Regions from separate parts of the Homo sapiens genome. Here regions 1 and 2 are each linked to region 3. The links are contacts of gene promoters, found by promoter capture Hi-C in blood cells and fetal thymus (Javierre and others, 2016). All regions are on one chromosome and are shown on one strand. Each heading gives the region's core, a stretch centred on a gene start or on the middle of the fragment in contact. The rest is flanking DNA. Distances are from core to core; before and after follow the strand shown.

Evidence for each region. Contacts are between HindIII fragments. The CHiCAGO score rates a contact against its expected background, and 5 or more counts as called.
Region 1: a contact is called between a fragment that was not itself captured here and the fragment with the promoter of ARHGAP42 in region 3, in 1 of 17 cell types (erythroblasts). The highest score is 5.6, in erythroblasts.
Region 2: a contact is called between a fragment that was not itself captured here and the fragment with the promoter of ARHGAP42 in region 3, in 2 of 17 cell types (endothelial precursors and total B cells). The highest score is 6.9, in endothelial precursors.

What each region holds. Positions count from the first base shown.
Region 1 is chr11:100,961,167-100,965,818 of GRCh38, forward strand. It overlaps ARHGAP42 (Rho GTPase activating protein 42), which reads left to right. Exons shown (of 24, transcript NM_152432.4): 15 at 518-602; 16 at 1,243-1,301; 17 at 4,505-4,610. Among named protein-coding and RNA genes, the nearest start is that of SNORD13I, 29 kb to the left of the region's middle. The HindIII fragment of the contact is 2,081 bases long and covers 695-2,775 here.
Region 2 is chr11:100,942,774-100,947,446 of GRCh38, forward strand. It overlaps ARHGAP42 (Rho GTPase activating protein 42), which reads left to right. Exons shown (of 24, transcript NM_152432.4): 10 at 986-1,095. Among named protein-coding and RNA genes, the nearest start is that of SNORD13I, 11 kb to the left of the region's middle. The HindIII fragment of the contact is 1,638 bases long and covers 1,493-3,130 here.
Region 3 is chr11:100,685,300-100,689,718 of GRCh38, forward strand. It overlaps ARHGAP42 (Rho GTPase activating protein 42), which reads left to right and starts at 1,989. Exons shown (of 24, transcript NM_152432.4): 1 at 1,989-2,533. The coding sequence starts at 2,380. It overlaps ARHGAP42-AS1 (ARHGAP42 antisense RNA 1), which reads right to left and starts at 2,656. Exons shown (of 2, transcript NR_133571.1): 1 at 2,334-2,656; 2 at 1-404. RefSeq lists silencers at 1,359-1,653, 1,704-1,893, 2,194-2,363 and enhancers at 1,590-2,300, 2,014-2,063, 2,384-2,753. The HindIII fragment of the contact is 7,960 bases long and covers 1-4,419 here.

The DNA of each region.
Region 1 (4,652 bases), core at 485-2,984, 280 kb after region 3:
ATTTTTATAATACTGTATTTTTTTTCCCCAAGTGTCCTTTGGTAAGCTAGAGATACAATAAGATGCATGGATGCTAGCTGGAGTCATTTGGAATCCTAGCTCAGCCACTTACAGGTTTTGTGACCTTGAGTAATTTGCTTAACGTCTTTGTGTCTCAGCCTCCTCATTTATAAAAATAGGGATAATAATGGTACCTGCCTCTTAAGAGTTGTGAGGATTGACTATGTTAATCTCCGTAAAGCACTTAGAAGCATGCTAGGCACATGGTAAGTGCTCTGTCATGTTAACAATTAGCAATAATTTCATTTGGGAGACTTATTTCATAAGATATATCTTTGAGGTTTAGTGTCAGCTTTTTATCAATTCACGCAAACAACAGTACTAATGTTAACTCTTGGCATTCTAAGAAATGAATACCTCTCTCTTTTGACCTACTTACGTTTGTGCCCATTTTTCATAATTGCATAAGAAATATTTTGAACTGCACAATTTAAACACCTTGTTTTATTCTTTCCAGCTCCTAAATCCCCTCCTGATATTGATATTGATATTGAACTGTGGGACAATAAGACGATAACAAGTGGGCTGAAAAACTACCTCAGGTGAGGAGGGTTTAACTCCTGGTACTCTGGATGTAATCTCTGACTCACCCCTTGAGTAGTAACCACGTGATTTCTTGGAGCCTGTGTCCAGAAGCTTCACTCAGTAGCTCAGTTCCCTTACATAAGGTGAAATAGCATGACATGGTAACATTTACATTTAGTGTTCTGGAACTTGTACTTGATTTTTTCAATAATAATTTAAAAGGCTATATAATATTTTGAGTACTGAATTAGTATTTGTTGTCCCATATGTATATGGGATTTTTATGTACTTTTTTAAATAACAAATTGGAATGGAAAGTTGTGTTGTTTTTGTTTTGTTTTTTAACTATTGTTCCCATATTTGTTCCTCTGGTAAGGTAATTCTGATATTGGGAGACTCCCAGTCTCCCCTCTTAATACAGTCATGGAAAGAAGTACATTGGTGTCTTCGAGGTCTGCGTTTCAGGTCTCTCTGTGGCCCCACTACTGGAACTTTATCATACTGCCAAATCACCCAATTCTTTTATTTACTTATTTATGTGTTATTTTATTTTTAATTGATGAATAACAGTCACCTAATTCTTAAAGAAACACTTAACGTTTAGGGGAGAATAAAAGATTCTACTATTCTAACATGTGTTTCCTTTCTCTGTTGTAGGTGCCTTGCAGAACCACTGATGACTTACAAGTTGCACAAAGATTTTATCATTGCTGTTAGTAAGTATACTTGCATCATATACACATTATAATTGATGTAGTTTTATGCTGCCATACTTAGGCATATATTACTAGTATCAGCTAGTGAAGATTTTTTTCAAGTATTGCTTAAAAAGTTGTTAATCTGGGCCGGGTGCGGTGGCTCAAACCTGTAATTCCAGCACTTTGGGAGGCCAAGGCTGGCGGATCACCTGAGGTCGGGAGTTCGAGACCAGCCTGACCAACATGGAGAAACCCTGTCTCTACTAAAAATACAAAATTAGCTGGGCATGGTGGCACATGCCTGTAATCCCAGCTGCTCGGGAAGCTGAGGCAGGAGGATCACTTGAACCCAGGAGGCGGAGGTTATGGTGAGTCGAGATCGCGCCATTGCACTCCAGCCTGGGCAACAAGAGCGAAACTCCATCTCAAATTAAAAAAAAGAAAAAAGTTGTTAATCTGATATTTAGTAATTTATAATGTGTTTTAGAAGCCAATAAGAAATTGCAGAATTAACTGAAATATTTTGACACTTAGTGAGACCTCATTGGGTAAGTGTGGTGATTATAAAGAACCATGAGGAATTATTATTCTAATTTCATTTTATTTGAATGACAAATACCAGTTTCTTTTAAGAGCAACTAAGCAGGACTCTAAATACGTACAGACGATTATGTCCCTGCACATGCTCATGTGCTGTATTCCTCAATCTGGAGATGAGTCAAATATTTTTGGCAGACAGCAGGTGCTTCCATCAATCCCCTCTCCCTCATATTTTATTTGCAATGATCACATTTATGTCATTTGTTTAGATCTGTGATTGCCGTCATATGATATGAATAGATAGATCAATTTAAAATATTAGCAGGAAGAGTTGACATATGTTATCTGAGAAGTTAGTAACGTGTATTTGTAAACCATTGAGACTGAAGTGCCAGGTACCATCTGAGCCCATCACAACAACCTGTAACAATTAAGAGCTGGCATTTCATTGTTAAGATGTATGAGGTGTGACTACAACCAGATTATTTTTCACAATCCAAGAAATAAATTAGTTGCTTTAGTTTATTTGCACACATTGTAATGTCACAGGAAATGTGTGCTGATAAAAGTGTCAGATAAAGTTGAATGACCTCGGTTTTCAATCCAGCATTTATGACTAACCACATGATCTCATATAAATCTACACTATTTAGTTTTCTCTTGAAGCTCTCCACTCTACCTCCTCTTCATAGAAATCTTTGTAAGACATACAGGACCAGAAAAAATATATAATCTGACCTCTCATTCTATGAACTAGGAAATCAGGACACAAAGTGGGCAAGTAACATGTACAATGACCCTAATAAATTCATGGCAAAATCAGGGCTGCAAGCCTGTTTTTTGTTCTTTTTACTCTTAACCCAGAACCCTTTCTTACAGAAATTTTGCTTTATAACAAAAGAAATTTGAGCTACTTGGCTAAAATGGCTCAATGAGCTTATTGTTTTAGTCAAGCTTTTGGTCACAAGTTTTTTCTCCATTTGCTTCTGTGGCAAATGATGATTATATTATTATAATAATATTCATGACTATGATATTTAAAATATCTTATATATCTTATATATAAGAACTCATCTTTTGTCTGGACCTAACATAGCCATATTTACTAGATGTGAAGTTAAGAAAATTAGGTTATTTGGTTTCAAGCAGCAAAAGTCCAGCTCAGTATAAAGGGGAAGTTATTCAGATCCTAAGAGATATTTCAGTGAATTCCTTGGCAGAACAGAGGTCAGGGTTTCCATGAGCCTGCAACCAGGAACTGCCAAGTTGGGATTTGACATTTCTCTACTCACTCTTTCTGGAGGATCTCTCATCTTTGTTCTCTACTGTATTTCTATCATTCTCACTTTCCTTCCCAGTCAGATTTTCTTGGAGTAGATTTGGTCACTTCAGCCCTGATTTTACATTATCTGCCTTTTCACATATGCGGAAAGATCAGATTTTTGATGTCTCCATTCCAATTGCTAGGTTAGACCTCATGTTTAGCCTGAGCCAGGCTCTTTCCTCACTCCATGTCTAAATAACTGCGCCCAGATGAAATGGTAGTCCCATAATGTGAATCCTATGAGTCAAGGTACTTTCTGGAGAAAGAATTTGGTATAGTGGGCAATCATCCCAGAATTTATTTGCTGCAGTAAGAGAATGTTAAGTGAAGCTTTCTTGTTCTGAAATGTTAGACATTTCTCCAGCAGACATGTCAACATCTTAGCTTTGACTTGGCAGACGACACTTGCCATAAATGAGTTCTTACATTTTACATTTACCGTTGTCATTATGGGCTAAAAATCTGTTGGGCTTGTGTTTATGTAATAATGCTAACATTTCAGAACAGCCCTTCTGTATTGTCTTTATATTTGTAAGATAAGGAGAGGAATCTGGGGCTTCATCTGGTCACACTGGGTTGAATCTCTAGGAGCTCTCTGTGGGTGTATTGCCACACTGCTATGAAGAAATATCCAAGACTCAGTAATTTATAAGAAAAAGAGGTTTAATTGACTCACAGTTCCGCAGGGCTGGGAAGGACTCGGGAAACTTACAATCATGGTGGAAGGTGCCTCCTCACATGGCAGCAGGAGAGAGAAGTGCTGAGGAAAGGGGGAAAAGCCCCGTATAAAACCATCAGATCTTGTGAGAACTCACTCACTATCAAGAGAACAGCATAGGGTAACCGCCCAATGATTCCATTACCTCACCTCCCACTGGGTCCCTCCCACAACACTTGGGGATTATGGGAACTACAATTCAAGATGAGATTTGGGTGGGGACACAGCCAAACCATATCAATGGGCTAATACGTACTCTAATGACTGGCACATTAGGCAGTCTATAGCAATTGCTGTGATCATTCACATTTCTAAAGGTTTGATTCTGTCTTCAGGTAGTAAAACCCAAGCAGGTGATGAGTTTTGGCTGTATCAAAGTATACAGTTCAGTGGCTAAGAGCATCTGTGTGGAATCAGTAGAACTGGGCTTCTTTGGCTTCTCTACTTCCTAACTTCATGACCATGGGCAAGTTACTCAACTTCTGCAAGCCATAGGGAATGATAATGACAGTACTACATGAAGCAATGCCTATGAGGCATGAGGGGTAGGAGTGGTAATTGTGATTAGATTACTAATGTTTACATACCCAATTGAATGGAATTAAAACTTGAGCATTTGCAATCTTTTTTATGTAACAGAATCTGATGATCAAAACTACAGGGTGGAGGCTGTACATGCATTGGTGCACAAATTGCCGGAGAAAAACAGAGAGATGCTGGACATCTTAATAAAGCATCTGGTCAAGTAATTCTCTAACTTACATTGTTCATTTAACTTATTGTTCAT
Region 2 (4,673 bases), core at 1,062-3,561, 260 kb after region 3:
GACATAAAATAAAGGAGAACATAACCAGAGAAAAAGAAACCTTAGTTGCTACCATCCTGGGAAGTTACTAAGTGCCATAACACACCTAGTTTCTACTCTAATAGTTACTACTGTAAATCCAACTTATGTGACAGTGAGTTAATAATGTAAGTAGACCAAGCCAAAGTTCTATTAATCAATTGATGACATTTGTAGCCAAAGATAGAATTAACCATACATTCTGTAAATGTTCCCCTTAACATAGACTGGCATCTCAGTGACAAAAGAGAATTCCTATGAATGTGGCCTATGTTGGATCTTGTCCAGAGAGTCAGTTTTAGTAGCGGTGTAGCAGTGGGTTACCAGCAAAACAATCACATTGTATTAGGTTGGTGCAAAAGTAATTGCTTTTTTTCCCATTACTTTTAATGGGAAAACCATAATTACTTTTGCACCAACCTGATATACATGGTAGCAATACTATTATATCATGTATATACTGGAACTATATTATTTCCGTAGCTCTCTTGTAAACCTGAGCTAGTTATCATTTAAGGCTCTAATACAAAGACACACATATGATACTAATCTCTTTGCAATCCAGGGAGTTTTGATTAAGAGCACCAAATGTATCCTAACAAGCACTCTGTATATCCAATTGTGATGTTAAGTGACTGTGTAACTTCATACGTTTTCTAAATCTAAGAATTGAGGGATTGTACATTATAGTATAATTTAACATTGTAAGTAAATATGTTGAAGGTTACTGGACAGGCATGTTACATAATTCTTTTAAATAAAACATGCATATGCCATTAATTAAATGGTTTTATGTATTATGATCGGACAGCTAACATCAGGAATAAAAAAAGACAGGGTATGATTGTGACCTTTATACATAACCTATACTGTTAAACATTTTAATGTGGCAACTTGAGCTCACATATTTAATATATTTCAATTCACTTGTCAGCATGTTAATACTGTGGTACTCTTCTTGTTTCAGAATGGCCTTGTTACTAGCTCACCGGAAATGTTTAAATTAAAATCTTGTATCCGACGAAAGACAGATTCAATTGACAAACGATTCTGCTTTGACATAGAAGTAGTTGAAAGGTTTGAGCTGTTCTTTTCACTTTATTTTTTTCATAAGCTAAACGGTGTCTCTTTCTGTATTTAAATATAAACATGAAACAGCATTCAAGTGTTTTTTAGTCTTTTAAAAAACAGTATACATGTTTATCTCTTTCTTTCATGTTGTTATTACATGATGCTTTCGAAAAAGCAAATCAGATCCATGATGCTAGAAAACAGTAGCATCACTCAAAGCAGAATCTGAAAAATCAATATAAATGACTGTATTAGGAGAAAGTGCATGTAGTGGCCTCATGGTCCCCATCATCATGAAGGAATCCAATGGCATATTTCATGGCTCCAGGATCAGCCTTTTGGTGGGCTTTGGAAGCTTGGTGGCCTTGCTTCTAAGGAATAAGATGCAGGTGGGAATACTATAAGCTTCTTTCAGCCAACTAAGTTTAATGCCTCCAGGATGCCTCCTGTGTGCAAAGCACTGTTCCGGGTATTCTTAGCCCAAAGTATTGGAAGAGATATAAATGTCGTGAATCTAAGTGTATAATTTAAGTTTACAATAAGAATGGGTATGCTTCTTGCTCTCTGCTCTGTAATCCATGATCTATCTTTCTTCTCCTGCATTAGTGCCACAATATTCTAAATACACTAGCTTATTGTGTGTATCCATGTATACCCTTTGTATATGATGACTTTCTATATATGCTCATAAACTACAGCCTATAGCTACAGGCATACCTCAGAGATATTGCAGGTTAGGTTCCAAACCACTGTAATAAAGCGAATATCATAATAAACTGAGTCACAGAAATTTCTGAGTTTCTCGGTGCATATAAAAGTTATGTTTATGCTACACTGCAGTCCATTAAGTGTGCAATAGCATTATGTGTAAAAAATATACATCCCTTAAAATATTTTAAGTAATGTGAATGGTCATCTGAGTCTTTAGTGAGTAGTAATTTTTTTGCTGGTGAAGGATCTTGCCTCGATGTTGGTAGCTGCTAACTGATCAGCATGGTGGTTACTGAAGGATGGGGTGGCTGTGGCCATTTTCTTAAAATGAGACAGCAATAAAGTTTGCCACATCAATTGAATCTTCATTTCAACAAAGATTTCTCTGTACCATGCAATGCTGTTTGATAGCATTTTACTCAGTAGGGCGTCTTTCAAAATTGGAGTCAGTCCTTTCAAACCCTGCCCTACTGCACTGTCAGCTAAGTTTATATGATATTCTAAATCCGTTGTTGTCATTCAAAAACGTTTATAGCATCTTCACCCGGAGAAGATTCCATCTCAGTAAACCACTTTCTTTGCCCATCCATAAGAAGCAACTAGTCCTTTCAAGTTTTATTATGAGATTGCAGCAATAAAGTCACATTTTCTAGAAGGCTCCACTTCTAATTCTAGCTTTTTTGCTATTTTCACTACATCTGCAGTAACTTCCTCCACTGAAGTCTTGAACCCCTCCAACTCATCCCTGAGAGTTGGAATCAATTCTTTCAAACTGCTGTTAATGTGGATATTTTGGCTTCCTCCCACGAGGGACAAATGTTCTTAATGACATCTAAAGTGATGAATCCTTTCTAGAAGGTTTTCAGTGTACTTTACCCAGATCCATTAGAGGAATCACTACTTATGGCCGTGAAAGCCTAATGAAATGTGTTTCTTAAATAATAAGACTCAGAAGTCTAACTTATTCCTCTTATTCCTTGATCCATGTGCTACATAATATATGTTGTGTCAGCAGGCATGAATATATTATTCTCCATTTAAATCTCTATCAGAACTCTTGGGTGACTAGTTGCATTGTCAATGGGCAGTAATATTTAGAAATAAACCTCTTTAATCAGAAGGTCTCAACAGTGGCTTAAAATATTCAGTAAACCTTACTGTAAACAGATGTGCTGTCATTCAGCCTTTATTGTTCCATTTGTAGAGCACAGGTAGAGTAGATTTAGCATAATTTTTAAGAACCCTAGGATTTGCAGAATGATATATGAACATTGGCTCTGACTTTAAGTCACCAGTTACATTAACCTCTAACAAGAGTCAGCCTATTTGAAGCTTTGAGGCCAGATAGTGACTTCTTTCTATTTGTGGAAGTCTTAAATGAGGGCATCTTCCAACAGAAGGCTATTTCATCTACATTGAAAATCTGTTGTTTACTGTAGCCACCTTCATCCATGATTGTAGCTAGATCTTCTGTATAACTTGCTGCAGCTTCTACATCAACTCTTACTGCTTCATCTTATACTTTTATATTATGCAAATGGCTTCTTTCCTCAAACATCATGAACCAACTTCTGCTAGGTTCATACTTTTTTTCTGCAGCTTACTCACCTCTCTCAGCCTTCATAAAATTGAAGACAGTCAGGGCCTTGCTGTGGAAAAGGCATTGGCTTAAGAGAATGTTATGGCTGGTTTGATCTTCTATACACACCACTAGAACTTTCCCCATGTCAGTAGTAAGGTTGTTTTGATTCCTAGCGTTTGTGTATTCACTGGAGTGGCACTTTTAATTTCCTTTAATAATTTTTCCTTTGCATTCACAGCTTGGCTAACTGATTGGCACAAGAGACCTAGTTTTTAGGCTATCTTGGGTTTCAACATGTCTTTCTCACTAAGTTTGGTCATTTATAGCTTTTGATTTAACATGAGAGACATGTGAATCTTCCTTTCCCTTGAACACTTAGAGGTCATTGTGAGATTATTGATTGGACTAATTTTAATATTGTTGTATCTCAGGGAATAGGGAAGCTAAGGGGAGGGAAAGAGATGGGGAAATGGCCAGTCAGTGGAGCAGTGGCACACACAACTTTTATTGACTGTTTGCCATCTTATGTGGACATGGTTAATGGCACCCCAAAATAATGACAATAGTAATATCAAAGATCACTGTTCATACATCACATGATAGATATAATAACAATGAAAAATTCCAAATATTGCAAGAATCACCAAAATGTGATACAGAGACACGATGTGAGCAAACGCTCTTGGAAAAATGGTGCTGATAGACATGCAGAACACAGGGTTGACACAAACAAACCATCAATTTGTTAAAAATGCAGTATCTGCAAAGCTCAATCAAGCAAAGAGAAATACATCAAGGTTTGCCTGTATCTAGTAGGGCAATGACTGTATTCCTAGGCTGCTGTAAACTGTGTTGACTCTTTTGCTCTGTGTTCTTATGATTTTTAAGATCCACTTACTAAGTTTCTCCTTGTTTCTCAAAATATCTTTTGGGATTTTGACTGAAGTTGCAGTAAAGTCTTCAATGGGTGTGGAATTAACCTCTTTTTGAATATTTTACATATCTTTTTTCAAATTTACTTTTGAGTACCTTCTTTTTATTGTTGTTTTGAATAGGATTCTTCTTTATGAGTTGAATTTTGTTTTCCTAAATGGTTAAGACTACTGCATAAAGAGGCTGTTAGTTTATTTATATATAATTCTCTTATCTGACCTATTTGCTGAACTATTTATTAGTTTTAATAGTTTTGTGTAGATATTTCTGGATTTTCTATGTAGACAAATACCAACATGTTAATGCTTTGTCTTAACACATTCCGGTTATATAACCTTGGAGCACTTTATTAAACTCT
Region 3 (4,419 bases), core at 739-3,238:
AAATGATAACCTGTATCATAGAATGTACAATACATCTGCCCTGGCATGTAACACTTTTAAAGAAAACTAAACATTGACATCCAACATATTAAATGCAACTTATGAAACACCAATGATGCATTTTTAAAGACTTAATCACAGTACGATGATTTAATGAAAAACAAGAAGAGAATGTTATATTTTATCGTTTCGTATCTCAGCAGTTTGGCACTGGATTCAGTTGATAGGAACAGCAACATGGCAAAAGTTGAAAGGAAACTGTTTGGCCTGGGTGATTTTTTGTCTTTCAGGCAGAGTAATGAGTAAATACAAAATCACCTCTGGTGAGACACAGTCCACTGGTGTTTATGTCATGTCATTTCATTAACTGACAAACAGAATTACTGCCTCTCCCTTCCCCAAACCTGCAAAAGAAAAAAAAAATTGAAGAGTATTTAGTTAACAAAAACAAATTTAACACTTGGAGTTAAAATGGCTCTAATAGTGACTGGTCATTTTGCCAATATGGGGCCAAAGATGTGAATATGGATGGAAGGTGTTTTGAGATGGAGTCGTTCTGTCACTCAGGCTGGAGTGCGGTGGAGTAATCTCGTAATCTCGGCTCATGGCAATCGCCGCCTCCCGGATTCCAGTGACTCTCCTGCCTCAGCCTCCCAAGTAGCTGGGACTACAGGCGTGCGCCACCAGGCCCAGCTAATTTTTGTATTTTTTAGTAGAAACTGGGTTTCACCGTGTTGGCCAGTATGGTCTCCAACTCCTGACCTCAAGTGATTCTCCTGCATCAGCCTCCCAGAATGCTGGTATTACAGGCGTTAAGTCACTGCGCCTGGCCCATACTGTTTACATTATCTTATCTGTTTTAGGTTTACATGTTATTTTTAATGTTCCTGTACATTTAAAAAATTGAAACCAAGAATCTTGACTGGCTCTGAAACTTAATTGGGAAAAATGTAAAGCACTTTAGTGGAATTTTTCCCATGATCTGTAGAATAGTTTTTAAACAGATGGTTCATATGGACAAAGCAATGAAAATGCAGAAATTAAAAGCAGATCCTTAAGAACAATATCCGAGTTCTCAGAAATCCTATAGATGATGTCAGGACGAGATGTAAAGCAGTCGTTTCTTTTGCTGTCAAGGTTTTAAGAGAACAGAAATTTATTAGGTGAACCTCCACCGGAGGAAGGATAAAGCCTGTGGGTAGGAGTTAACTATTTATTTCAAACTCCAGTCCACTTCAACAATTTGAAAATTTTCCCGCTCCTAGGACAATTCCATCCAGGTGCCAATAGGAGATACTACTATTGTGATGCAAATAGGTATTCTACTAGAAGTAGGAGCACGTAAGCAGAGTGAGGATGACTTGAAAAATCGTCCCACCTTCCCAGCTATGGAGTGGGGGCAGGGGGAAGAAACACCTCCAGGCTGGATCATTGAAGCTGAGGGGTGGGAGAGCGACGGGACAATTTTTCAACGTGGAATTCAAATGCATTCGGTGGGGAAGTGTGAAGTAAAATCTAAACGAACGCTAGACAGTAGTATCTTCCATCTACGCTTCAAAATACTCAGACTTTAGGGAAACTTAACGTTGGTTTTTCTCCCAGAGAATTGTAGGGAGTGGGTGGAGGGGACACTGTTAGGGGAGGTATATTGGGAGTCAGATCCTTTTGTGGAGCGAGGGACCCCGAAGTGTCACCAAGGGCTAGCCGAAACCAGGGGCCCAAGAGGGGACAGGGCTAACACCCCAGCCAAGGCCGGAGCGCAAGCGCGGGGCTGCAGCGCGGGGAGCCCTGGAGCCCAGTGCGGGCGGACGGGTGGGGCAGGAGGGCAAAGGGGCGAAGGGGCGGGGTGGCGCTGGGTGGGAGCGCGGCGGCGGGGAGGAGGGTCTGGGAGCCCGGGTGCGATTTGCAAGCGCTCTGAGCCTGCGTCCGCCGAGGGGGAGGGTTTCCCCAGCCCGGCCGGAGTTGCGGCTGTGCGCTGCTTCTGGCTCACAACGCCGACGACTGTCAAGAGAGTTGGGGAGTGGAACTGCCGGAAGTGTCTGCGCGCCGTGAGAGAAACTTTCCTGCTCCGGCCGCGGCCCGGAGCCTCGCCGCCCCCGCGTTCCGAACGACGATGCGTCCAGATGACAACAACCTGAGGGGACTCGCGCCTCGGCCCGCCGCCCGCGCCTGCGCTCGCCTAGCCTCGGGGGAGGAAGACTGAGCCCGGCGCAGGCGGCGCGGCGCTCGGGGCCCGTTTCCTCCGCGCAATCAGTCCCCTCGCGTCCCGGCGCCTTCCCCGCGATCGCGCGACCCCAGCGCCCGCCGCGGCCGCCGGCTGCCCCCGCCCTGACCTCCGGCCCGGACGTGTCCGCGGCCGCCGCTGGCAGCGCCTGTGCCATGGGGCTGCCCACTCTGGAGTTCAGCGATTCCTACTTGGACAGCCCAGATTTCAGGGAGCGCTTGCAGTGTCACGAGATTGAGCTGGAGCGAACCAACAAGTTCATCAAGGAGCTCATTAAGGACGGCTCTCTGCTCATTGGGGCGTTGAGGAGTAAGTAGGGCTGGCGGGGGAGTGGACACCCGCATCTGGAGAGTCCCCGCGGGGTGCGGGTCCGAAGGGTGGGTTGGAGGAGTCGGAGCTTCTTTTGTTTGAATGGATTTGGGGACAAAAGCTGAAGAGCTCCCCTGCTGGTGGCCAACAAAGTTTGTTCTTGAGGTGTTCTTTACTTACTCACATGTCTACAGGGATGGGGAAAGTTCTCTACAGGGCACTGGAATATATCCTGAGGAAAGTCGTTCAAAGTCATCTCGTTGTGTAATGCTCCTAGGAAGATGTTGGGGACTTTAATTTTTTTTTTTTAATTTATTGTGTCTATTAATAGTTTGAACTAAAAAAGCCCTTAAGGGGGGAATCAAGAGTTTGTCTTAAAGATAAAATTAGGCTAGTTTAGTGATATTGAAAGAAAATTATTAATGTCTCTCATACGTCAGTGGCTCTTCATTGGACACAGTCATTGAGTTGGCTTTTTAAAAAGCATACATTTGCAGTTTTGCCATTTTGTAAGATAATGGAAGACAGCAAGGCACCAGTGCATTTTAACTCTGCAAGTTTTCTGTGCGTCTTAGTTTTGGTTTGCATTGTGTGGGTGTTGGGTGTGTCATTGGGATGAAAGTTAAGGGGTTAAAGGCCAATCAGAACTTTTGATGATCTGTAGAATATAAAGACTGTTATAGTCTATAATATAGGGCTTCTTCCACCTCCTTTCCCATACACCTCTTGATCAAATTTTCCTTCCTCCTTTTATCCTCTGGATCTTAGCTTTCAATTCCTAAGACCTAAGAGTATCTGAAACTGAAGAGTTTCTCTTACAGAGAATTGAGCACAATTACATGATATGGCTTGTTACCTTTCCCAGGAGGTATTTGCATCTTTTAAAAAATTTATTTTTATTTATTTATGTATTTATTTATTTTCCATCTTCAAAGGAGCCTGTGAAAAGTATTTGCATCTTAATAGAGGCTTCTGGATGTTTTAGCTACTGAAATGAAGCCGTGGAATCTCTGGTCACTTAAAGCTGGGTGAGTGAGGTACTTTCAAAAGGTAGAGAGACCTTTGGGTGATCTAGTTACCCCCAGGACATATATGGGGGCATCATCTTTGTATAACAACATGATAGGGATGTGTGCGCCTAAAACTGAGACAATACTAGTATCGGATCTATATTTTGAAACATGTATTAACAGTAAGGAGAGAGCTTAGCAAGATGTCTTGAAATTAATGTGCTCCAAAATATCTTTTAATCATCCCAAATGTTAAAACATTTACTTAACCACTTGTGTTACTTAACCAAGGTAAAGATAATATATTTTATGCCCATATTCACTTAATTTCTGAATTTGAGGCTACTACTAATAATGGTATTTACTGTGATTTGTGAAAAATATAGTTTGTCTGCAATTCTTGCCACCCTACATAAACACTAATGTGAACTGTCCTTCCTCTGGCTTGCAAATCCTGGTTAAAGTCTCGCGGGACTAACCTCTTTGCATCTAAGAGAGCATGATGCCTCTTCAAAAAGAGCTGCATCTCAGAGTGTCAAATGCCAAGCCAGTTCTTGTTGGAGGTGCCAGATATTCTACATTTTTCTCCCCGCTCTGCTTGAGATAAACTTTAGTGTTTCAGAAGGTCAAAATACTTACATACCTGTGATAAATGCTCTGACATGTACATTATATTACGAGTGACATTACATACTTTATTATGATGGTTGAATCTAGCTTTGTAAAAGTCAGGTGATTCCCATCATTATAGTTTTGTTCTTCCATTCATAAGTGAAGAAATCTTGGGAGCGTAGGCTCTTTGAAGATATAGGCCCTGCATCATTAATTTGGCTTATGCACTTAATTATACAACCTGCTATCTTTCTAGGATTCTTA